Linked DNA regions of Homo sapiens: region 2 is linked to region 1. Evidence: promoter capture Hi-C in human tissues and cell types (Jung and others, 2019). All regions are on one chromosome and are shown on one strand. The core of a region is centred on a gene start or on the middle of the fragment in contact, and the rest is flanking DNA. Distances in the headings are between cores, read along the strand shown.

Region 1 (5,201 bases), core at 1,026-3,525:
CACCTAATTTTTTGTATTTTTAGTAGAGATGGGGTTTCACCATTTTAGCCAGGATGGTCTTGATCTCCTGACCTCATGATCCACCCGCCTCGGCCTCCCAAAGTGCTGGGATTACAGGCGTAAGCCACCGCGCCTGGCTACCAAAAATTTTTTTAAGTTAACAGGGCATGGTGGTTACTTGGGAGGCTGATGCTGGAGGATCACTTGAGCCCAGGAGTTCCAGACTGTAGTGAGCTGTAATCGTGCTACTACACTCCAGCCTGGGCAACAGGGCGAGACCCTGTCTAAAAAAAGAAAAAGAAAAAGAAAAAAAAAGCTGGAAGTTTAAAAACATACTTGGAGGTGGGACAAATGAAGAAACATGACATCATTGATGTAACTGAAGGGCACAGCCTTTGGGAACAGATGTGACAGGAACAAAGAAAACAAAGCTCCTTACTTCCCACCTCCTAGGTCCTTCTTTTCCCAGGTGGCAGGAAGCCACAGCTAAAGTGTATATTTACATCTACCTGCCTGGACCAAAGCCTTTGGATGTGCTGAATGGTGGGCACAGGTGATCAGGCCTCAACCCAGTGAACAACAGGATAATTTGGTAGAATTACTTTAGAGAGAAAGAACCTACTCAGTAGGTGATGTGGAGCCTTCTGAAATAGGTCATCTTCACTACTCAGATCTTTTTTCTTTTGGAGACAGAGTCTTGCTCTGCTCCCCAGGCTCGAGTGCAAAGGTGTGAGCTCACTGCAACCTCTGCATCCCAGGTTCAAGCAATTCTCCCGCCTCAGCCTTCCAAGTAGCTGGGACTACAGGCACGCACCACCACATCCGGCTAATTTTTGTATTTTAGTAGAGACGAGGTTTCATCACTTTTCCCAGGCTGGTCTCAAACTCCTGAGCTCAGACAATCCACCCAGCTCAGCCTCCCAAAGTGCTAGGATCACAGGCGCGAGCCACCACGCCTGGCCTCCCTTATATCTTTATTTTACCTGCTTTTCAGAAATTGCTTGTTCCTGTTGTTTTATTTATTTTTACTTGTAATTCCTTTCCAGCCCCATTATAATGGCAAAACACTGCAATCTGAATGTTCAACTCGGGGGAGATTTGTTAACCCACCCCCCCAATCATAAGATATTTGAATGGAATCTAAATGCCTAGCCACCAGTACACCGCCTGGTACAACCTGAATGTCTACCTATAAGAGACTGGTGGGGACAAGCTAAGAGTCCAGACTCAGGGGCATGGATGGCATAACCTAAATGTTCAACCATATGGGACTTGATTGGAACTAAAAACTGTCCAGCCATAGGGAGAGTCTTGCAATATCCTAAATCCCCACATGAGATTGTTTGGGACAACCCAGGGACCAACTACAGTGGCCCGGTCAGATCCTAAATGTCCAAACATGGGAATCTGTTTGGTATGTAAACGTCCAGCCAGGCTGGGTTGGCAGAGACGATCTAAATGACCAACTGGGGTTTTGTTGGAACCCATCGCTGCTTAGGCATGGCAGGGCCCAGGCCATGGCGTGTTCTTTGGTCTAGGTTGGCTGAAACAACCTAAATGCCCAACTATAGGGAATCTGGTTGGAAGTGAATGTCCAGCCACAGGGGAGCCCTGCAACATCCCAAATCCCAACACGAGATTGTTCAGGACAACTTCAGTGGCCTGGTCGGATCCAAAACGTCCAAACACGGGAATCTGGCCAGTGTGTCAATGTCCAGACAGGTTGGGTTGGCAGAAACTATCTAAATGTCCAACGCTGGCCAGACGCGGTGGCTCACGCCTGTAATCCCAGCACTTTGGGAGGCCGAGGCAGGTGGATCGCTTGAGGCCAGGAGATCGAGACCATCCTGGCTAACACGATGAAACTCCGTCTCTACTAAAAATACAAAAAAATAGCAGGGAGTGGTGGCGGGCGCCTGTAGTCCCAGCTACTCGGGAGTGCTGAGGCAGGAGAATCGCTTGAACCCGGGAAGCGGAGGCTGCAGTGAGCAGAGATCGCACCACTGCACTCCAGCCAAAATAAATAAATACATAAATGTCCAATGCTAGGGCACCGCATTTGAGCCTAGCTCGGACGGGGCCTCTGCGACGGAGTATCCTGGGCGACCCCGTCCCCTCTCTGGCCCGTTTCCCAGTCTCTGAGCTTGGGCCAAACTCTAGGACCTCCGGCCCCGGTCCGCCCCTGCCTCACCAGGCGGTCCCGGCCCCTGTACGACTCCAGCGCCGACGCCAGGCCGCTCAGCGACGCCATGGCAACTCCGTGACGTCACCGCGACGTCGGCGCGCCGCGCCAGGGGGCGGGGCCAGGCCGGGGTACCGGGAGCGCCCCAAAGGCTTGCGCGCAGGCGCGGCCGCAGGCCTTTGTCCCCCTGACCGGCTTTTTGTCCGCTGTAGGGGAGGGACAGAGTTTGCAGAGGTGGGGCCGACACGTGTGTGCTCTCCAGGCCTGCAGACCCTGGATCATCCTCGGAGTTTGCTGCATTCTGCCCCACGGCGGTTTGGCCAACTACCCACGCACAAAAAAATATATTTCTAAGTTTAACCAACTACCCACACGCTCCAAAAATATTCCAAGCAAAACCACCAACCTGTTCGCAGTGGTTCAAGGAGAGATTTTCCTTTTTAGTTTTTGTGCTTCACCTTTTCTGCACTGTCTGCCTGCCCGTAGTGAGCAGGAATGACTGCTGTAATATCACAACAAGGCATCTTTCGACGTTAAGGAAAGACGTTATCTTTGGACGTTAAGAATTGTTCTAGAATACATAAATAAAAAATAAAAATGCACAATTCAGTGACATTAGTACATGCACATGTTGGACAACCATCACCCCTTGCTAGTTTCGGGGTATTTTTATCACCCCCAAGAGAGACCCCCGTAGGAGACCAGCATATGCCCCTCTGAAATATGCGACCTTGGTGTAGGATTATTTTGAGCTGAGATCAATGAAGCTGATACCGGAAAAGCTCTCTGTTCTTCCCTGATTTGCCTCAAAGCAGGACCTAAAGGTACAAAGGTGCCCTCCTCCCCTCTCTACCAGGAAGGACAAAGGTTGATCACCAGGGACACCTTTAGACTCTTGTCTGGAGACGTCTTTTTTTTTTTTTTCTTTTTTTTTGAGACGGAGTCTTGCTCTGTCCCCAAAGCTAGAGTGCAGTAGCGCCATCTCTGCTCACTGCGTCCTCCGCTTCCCTGGTTCAAGCGATTCTCGTGCCTCAGCTTCCCAAGTAGCTGGGATCACAGCTGTGCACCACTGTGCCCGGCTAATTTTTGTATTTTTGGTAGAGTCGGGGTTTCACCACGTTGGCCAGGCTGTTCTCAAATTCCTGGCCTCAAGTGATCCGCCCGCCTCGGCCTCCCAAAGTGCTGGGATTACAAGCGTGAGCCACCGCACCCGGCCTCAATGTCCTTTTCCTTCGTCTTGTCACTTCTCCAAAAATTTGCTGCTATATGTTGAAGGTGCTATATAAGCAGGAGTTATATAAGCTATATAAGCCACCTCATTTCTCTTGGCATCTCCCATGTACACATAAGGTACACATGTTAATAAATTTGTTTTTCCCTTGTTAATTTTTTTTTTTTAGACGGAGCCTCGCTCTGTCGCCCAGGCTGGAGTGCAGTGGCACGATCTCGGCTCACTGCAAGCTCCGCCTCGCGGGTTCACGCCATTCTTCTGCCTCAGCCTCCCGAGTAGCTGGCACTACTACAGGCGCCCGCCACCACGCCTGGGTAATTTTTTTTTTTTTTTTTTTTTTGTATTTTTAGTAGAGACGGGGTTTCACCGTGTTAGCCAGGATGGTCTTGATCTCCTGACCTCGTGATCCGCCCGTCTCTGCCTCCCAAAGTGCTAGGATTACAGGCGTGAGCCACCGCGCCTGGCCTCTATTTTTTTTTTTTTTTTTTTTTTTTTTTTTTGAGACAGGGCCTCGCTCTGGGAGGAACCAAATTTGTAGATGTGAAGCCGCCACTTGTGTGCTCTCTGGGCCTGAGGACCCAGGATGATGCCCAGAGCTTGCTACATTCTGCCCCATGGTAGCTTGACCAACTACCCACAAAAAAGGGGTAGAGTGCAGCGGCACGATCTTAACTCACTGCAGCCTTGAACTCCTGGGATCAAGCCATCCTGCCACCTCAGCATCCTGAGTAGGTGGGACCACAGGTGCCTGCCACCACAATTGGCTAATTTCTTTTTATTTTTTATTTTTTGTAGAAATGGAGTCTTACCATGTTACCCAGGCTGGCCTTGAGCCCTGGGCTTAAGCAATCTTCCCACGTCGACCTTCCAAAGTGCTGGAATTACAGGCGTGAACCACCGCACCCGCCCTTCTTAATTCTTTCATTGCAAGGATCCATCACAGCTAAGAACTAAGAATAAAGGAAAAAGTATGTTTCCTCCCCTACACCCTGTTCCCATAAAGCAATCACTCAATTCCTCCCTCCTCCCAGCCCCTGGCAACCACTAATCTGCATTCTCTGCTGTCTCTCTGTATTTTTACCACTTCTTGATTTTTTTTTTTTTTTTTTTTTTTTGAGACAGAGTCTCACTCTGTCACCCAGACTGGAGTGCAGTGGCATGATCTCAGCTCACGGCAGCCTCCGCCTCCCAAGTTCAAGCAATTCTCCTGCCTCGGCCTCCCAAGTGGCTGAGAGTACAGGTGCGCACCACCACACCCGGCTAATTTTTGTATTTGTAGTAGAGATGGATTTTACCATGTTGGCCAGGCTGGTCTTGAACTCTTGACCTCAAGGGATCTGCCTGCCTCGACCTCCCAAAGTGCTGGGATTACAGGCATGAGCCACCATGCCCGACCTCCTTGATATTTCATACAAATGGAATCATACAATATGTGACCATTTGTGTCGGCCTCTTCCACCAAGCATAATAGGTTGTTTTGGTTTTTGCTTTTTGTTTTTGAGACAGGGTCTTGCTGTGTCACCAGGCTGGAGTGCGGTGGTGTGATCATAGCTCACTGCAGCCTTGAACTCCTGGGCCTGAGAGATCCTCCTGCCTCAGCCTCCACATTGCCTGGGACTACAGGTGCACGCCACCACATCTGGCCAATTTTTAAAATTTTTCTTTTGTAGAGATGCGGTCTCGCTATGTTCACCAGGCTGGTTTCGACCTCCTGGACTCAAGGGATCCTCCTGCCTTGGCCTCCCAAAGTGCTGGGATTACAGGTGTGAGCCACTGCGTGCAGCTGAG
Region 2 (5,201 bases), core at 1,070-3,569, 1.1 Mb after region 1:
CTGTAGTGCAATGGTGTGATCTTGGCTCACTGCAACCTCCGCCTCCCGGGTTCAAGCGATTCTCCTGCCTCAGCCTCCCGAGTAGCTAGGATGACAGGCATGTGCCACCACACCCAGCTCATTTTTGTATTTTTAGGAGAGACGGGGTCTCACCACGTTGGCCAGGATCGTTTCTATCTCTTGACTTCGTGATCTGCCCGCCTCGGCCTCCCAAAGTGCTAGGATTACAGGTGTGAGCCACCGCACCCGGCCGGGCATTAGATTGTCATAAGCAGCATGCAACCTGGATCCCTCGTGTGTGCAGTTCACAACAGGGTTTGCGATCCTGTGATAATCTAATGGCGCCCCCGAGAATCTGAGAGGAGGTGGAGCTCGGGCTTGCTTGCCTGCCACTCATCTCCTGCTCTGTGACCCGATAGGGCTCATGGTTTCTAACAGACAGACCATGGCCCGATAGCAGTCCATGACCCCGGGGGTTGGGGACCCTGTTGTAAAGGACTTCAGAAATACTGTTTCATTGAATCCTTCAGCGATCTTCCTGGCATTCACCACTCCTCCAGGAAGATTTCAGCATCCCCAGACAGAGGTGGGTGTCATTTTTTTCTCTTCTATCATCCTCTGCGATACGGGTGGCCCCTCCCAGACCTTGTCTGCCAAGCCGACTGTTGACTAAGCATTTTCAGAGGGCTTCCTTGGGGAGGGGTTGCCTTTCTTTCAAGTAGCAAATCACTTCCTGTGTTCTTTTGATCAAAGCCCTGCCCATCCCAGGACCTGAGCCTCCCTGGCTTGCTTCTCATCTTGGAAGAATTCCCACCCCAACAGTCTCAGAGCTCCAGCTGATGGTTTGGGTGTGAATTCCGGGATGCCCAATTTCTCATCAGCTTTCCTTTTTTGAGACGGAGTGTGCTCTGTCACCCAGGCTGGAGTGCAGCGGCAGGATCTCAGCTCACTGCACCCTCCGCCTCCTGGGTTCAAGTTATTCTCTTGCCTCAGCCTCATATGTAGCTGGGATTACAGGCGTGTGCCACCACGCCCAGTTAATTTTTTGTATTTTTTAGTAGAGACGAGGTTTCACCACGTTGGCCAGGCTGGTCTCGAACACCTGACCTCAAGTGATCTACCTGTCTCAGCCTCCTAAAATGCTGGGATTACAGGCATGAGCCACTGTCCCTGGCCCTCACTGGCTTCCTGAAAGAAGGTGTTGTCTCTCAGACTAACACCACCTCTGCCTCTTGCCCTATGTCCCTGACTCCACCCTAGTAAGCTGTACCTGCCAAGAATCCTGCAGTGGCCGCTGTCACAGCCACATGCTCTCATCCTCACTGACTGAATGACGAGAAATGAAAGCTGAAGTGGTCTACACAGCAGAGAGCTGTGGGGTGGGGTCAGCCCTGGCCACCTCTTACTTTGCGTCTTATGGTGGTACGATACTGCTAGGAATAGCGCCATGATCACGACAGTCTCCCCGTTGCTATCATCGACAGACCTCAGACTTGACAGGCAGCAACACCTCTGGCTGCCATCCTCCTCTTGGGATAAGGGATGCCCACCAAAGGGTGGCATGGACGTATTCAGCCTCTCCTGCCTCTGCTGCAGCCATACCGCCCGTCACCGGCACAGGGAGGGCGTCAATCCACCCCATCGCTTGTTAGACATAGCTTCCCATCTCAGCCGAGGACTCTGTGGCAGAACCCACAGACCTTGAGAATGTTGCAACTGAAAGACCCCTGAAGAGCAACTTCCGCATCTAGACGGATTTCCAAATATGACATCTGTGGGAACCGGGGCCAAGAGAGGGGAAGTGACTAGCCCAAGGCTACACAGGGAGACGAGAGACTGGGCTGGACTGGGAAAGGGCTCCCTTAATTTGCAAGCAAAGGAGGCTATGTCCTTGTCCCTGCAGACTCTGTGATTCTCCCTGGGCCACCTTCTGTCTTCCAGGTCCTGCCCTATCCTTGGATCCAGGGATACCACCCTGGCATCCCCACCACCTACAGATGGGAGCTTGCTCCCTGGTAAGGGATGCTGGAGGCACCTGAGCTGCACTGAGAGACACCCCACCCCCACAGAAGTCCACCATGCCCCTCCCCTCACCCCAATTTCTGATGGTCATTTTTAGGACACCTCCACCTGGCTGGTGTCCCTCCTCTTTCTTCTTCCAGATCCCACCCTTGAAGGACTTACCATGGTGGGGGGCTGGTGTCTGGGCTCCTGGAGGCTCCTGAATGGGTCGTGATGGAGGTGCAGGTTCAGGGGGATCTTGGGGGTGGCTTGGGCATGGCCCTGCTTCTGCCCGTTCACCGGACTCCCGGCTTTAGTTCCTCTTACAACAGCCCCTTCTCACTTCCTTTGGCGGGAGGGGCCGAGGCCATGGGGGAGGGAAGCTGGGTGTGGAGGGGGGCGGGGAGCTGGCTGTTTGGGGCTCTGAGCCTGAAGGGAGGGGTCAGAACTTGATGGCAGCCACTACTGGACCTCAGAGGCCTCTTCCCCAACTCCTTGGGGACAGGGCTGCTGCAGGAACATTTGGGTCAGCTGGCTGCAGGACGAACCACCTCTTTTCAGGGCGATTCAGGAAGCATTTGGGCTTCCCGGGTCTCTTTTTAAAACCAAGGAAGGGGCCCAGGGGAGGTGGCTCACGCCTGTAATCCCAATACTTTGGGGGGCCAAGGTTGGAGGATCGCTTGAGTCCAGGAGTTTGAGACCAGCCTGGGCTATATAGCATGACCCCATCTCTACAAAAAATGAAAAGAAAAAAAATTAGCTGGGCATGGTGGCATGAGCCTGCAGTCCCAGCTACTCAGAGGGCTGAGGTGGGAGGATTGCTTGAACCTGGGAGGTGGAGGCCTCAGTGAGCCCTGATTGCGCCACTGCACTCCAGCCTGGGCGAAAGAGTGAGACCCTGTCTCTAAAAACAAACCAGAAAAAACAAAAAAACCAAAAAAACAACAACAACAGGGAAGGGTGCCTTCTTCAGCTGTGTCTGCTCTGGGCATCCCTGGGCAACCTCCTTCATTATTATTATTGTTATTATTTTGAGACGGAGTCTAGCTCTGTCACCCAGGCTAGAATGCAGTGGTGCAATCTCAGCTTACTTTAATCTCCGCCTCCTGGGTTCAAGCGATTCTCCTGCCTCAGCCTCCTGAGTAGCTGGGATTACAGGTGCCCACCGCCACACCTGGCTAATATTTGTATTTTTAGTAGAGACGGAATTTCGCCATGTTGGCCAGGCCGGCCTTGAACTCCTGACCTCAGGTGATCCTCCCAACTCGGCCTCCCAAAGTGCTGGGATTACAGGCATAAGCCACCACGCCTGGCCCAACCTCCCTCTTTAGATGACCCTCAGAAGTCACACGTGTTTGTGTGCAGAAGTGGAGGGTACTGGGAAGCAGGTGCATCTGAAAGGTCCCTGACTTTGGATGTCACATCTAGATTTAACAGCCTCCAGTTTGGCTACTTCCTGGATGACTTAGTTACTCCCTTTTCTCATTGTAAAATGGGAACGTGGGTCCCCCCAGCAGAGCCTGGCCCAGGTACGTGTCAGCCTATGAGCTGGTCTTTGGGACACCAGCCAACCACCTGAGGCTCCTCTTGACATGTGAGGAAATGGCAGTTCTAATAGGTTGTTACTTCCCCACACCACCCAGCAAGGAGGTGGCCGAGGCAGGACCCGACCCTGGGAGACCCTGGGGGACCCATGTTCAGATCTATCTTTGGTCCAGGGCGATAAACCCGCATCCCCCTTGAAGATGTTAATATGCAGCGCCCCTAGTGGCCACAGCTGGGAAGGAGCCCGTCTCTGCTGGAATCTCCTGAGCGAGTTTGCAGAATTGACGGGCTTGGGGCATGCAATTCTCAGCAATGTCTCCAGGCACTCAAGAGTGAATATGAATGGGTAAGAGGACCCCACTTTGTTGGGGGCCATCAGGGGAGGCTTCTAGGAAGAGGCAACGTTTGTGCTGACACCGGCGAGTAAGCTGGAGTTAAAAAAGGTAAAGGGGCAGGAGCGTGCACCTGGCCATGCTAAGCGCTCAAGCAAAGGCCCAGATATGGGAAAACCATAGGGCAATTGAGGAAGTTCGGGGAGGCTGGTGTGGCTGGAGCATGCGGAGTGACGGAGAGTGTGATGGCCAGGGTGGCAGGTGCTAGACCGTGTGGCTTTAAGAGCCTCTGTGAGGGCCAGGCATGGTGGCTGATGCCTGTAATCCCAGAACTTTGGGAGGCTGAGGTGGGAGGATCGCTTGAGCCCAGGAGTTCCAGACCAGCTTGGGCAACATAGCAAGACCTCGTCTCTACAAAAAATTAAAAAATCAGCTAGGTGTGCTGTTGCACCTATAATCTCAGTTACTTGGCAGGGTAGGCAGGAGAATCGTTTAAGCCCAGGAGTTCAAGGCTGCAGTGAGCTGAGATCGTGCCACTGAACTCCAGCCTGGGCTACAGAGTGAGACCCTGTCTCAAAAAACAAAAACAAAAAAGCAAAACCCTTCCACGAGAAGCTGTTGTACTTTTCTCCTAAAATCCCTGGGTTCCTGTCTGCAATGTTAAAAGTCCCCTTCTGGCTGGGCACGGTGGCCCATGCCTGTAATCCCAGCACTCTGGGAGGCCGAGGCGGGCAGATCACGAGGTCAGGAGATCGAGACCATCCTGGCTAACACGGTGAAACCCCGTCTCTACTAAAAAAGTACAAAAAATTAGCTGGGCATGTTGGCGGGCGCCTGTAGTGCCAGCTACTCGGGAGGCTGAGGCGAGAATGGCATGAACCCAGGAGGCGGAGCTTGCAGTGAGCCGAGATCGTGCCACTGCACTCCAGCCTGGGCAACAGTGCAAGACTCCGTCTCAAAAAAAAAAAAAAATAAAAAAAAAAAATAAATAAATCAGCTGGGTGTGGTCGTGCACGCCTGTAGTCCCAGCTATTCAGAAGGTGGAAGTGGGAGGATCACTTGAGTCCAGGAGATCAAGGCTGCAGTGAGCTATGATAGGCATAGCTGGGCGACAGGGACCGTCTCAGGAAAAAAAAAAAAGAAGTCCCCTTTTGGCTGTTGGGTAGACCTGGGAGAATGGGTGGTCCTTTCCAGACCTGGGTGGGGGCTACTGGATGCACTGACACACACACACCGCAATTCGTAGAAATCTACACAAGACAGAACTTTATTGATGTAGGGCTTCCTGGCAGGAGTGTGTGGGCCCCAGGGCAGGGTCTGTAG

What was found. Contacts are between HindIII fragments. The study calls those that stand out against the background at their distance.
Region 2: a contact is called between the fragment with the promoter of MYO1F here and the fragment with the promoter of PEX11G in region 1, in 1 of the 25 tissues and cell types used here (bladder).

The regions. Positions count from the first base shown.
Region 1 is chr19:7,486,760-7,491,960 of GRCh38, forward strand. PEX11G (peroxisomal biogenesis factor 11 gamma) reads right to left here and starts at 2,276. Exons shown (of 5, transcript NM_080662.4): 1 at 2,192-2,276. The coding sequence starts at 2,251. RefSeq lists silencers at 2,023-2,082, 2,133-2,462. The HindIII fragment of the contact is 14,364 bases long and covers 2,072-5,201 here.
Region 2 is chr19:8,575,123-8,580,323 of GRCh38, forward strand. MYO1F (myosin IF) reads right to left here and starts at 2,320. Exons shown (of 28, transcript NM_012335.4): 1 at 2,185-2,320. The coding sequence starts at 2,187. It overlaps ADAMTS10 (ADAM metallopeptidase with thrombospondin type 1 motif 10), which reads right to left. Exons shown (of 26, transcript NM_030957.4): 26 at 5,118-5,201. RefSeq lists enhancers at 765-824, 1,165-1,224, 1,395-1,574 and silencers at 1,695-1,744, 2,282-2,431, 3,652-3,846. The HindIII fragment of the contact is 34,715 bases long and covers 1-5,201 here.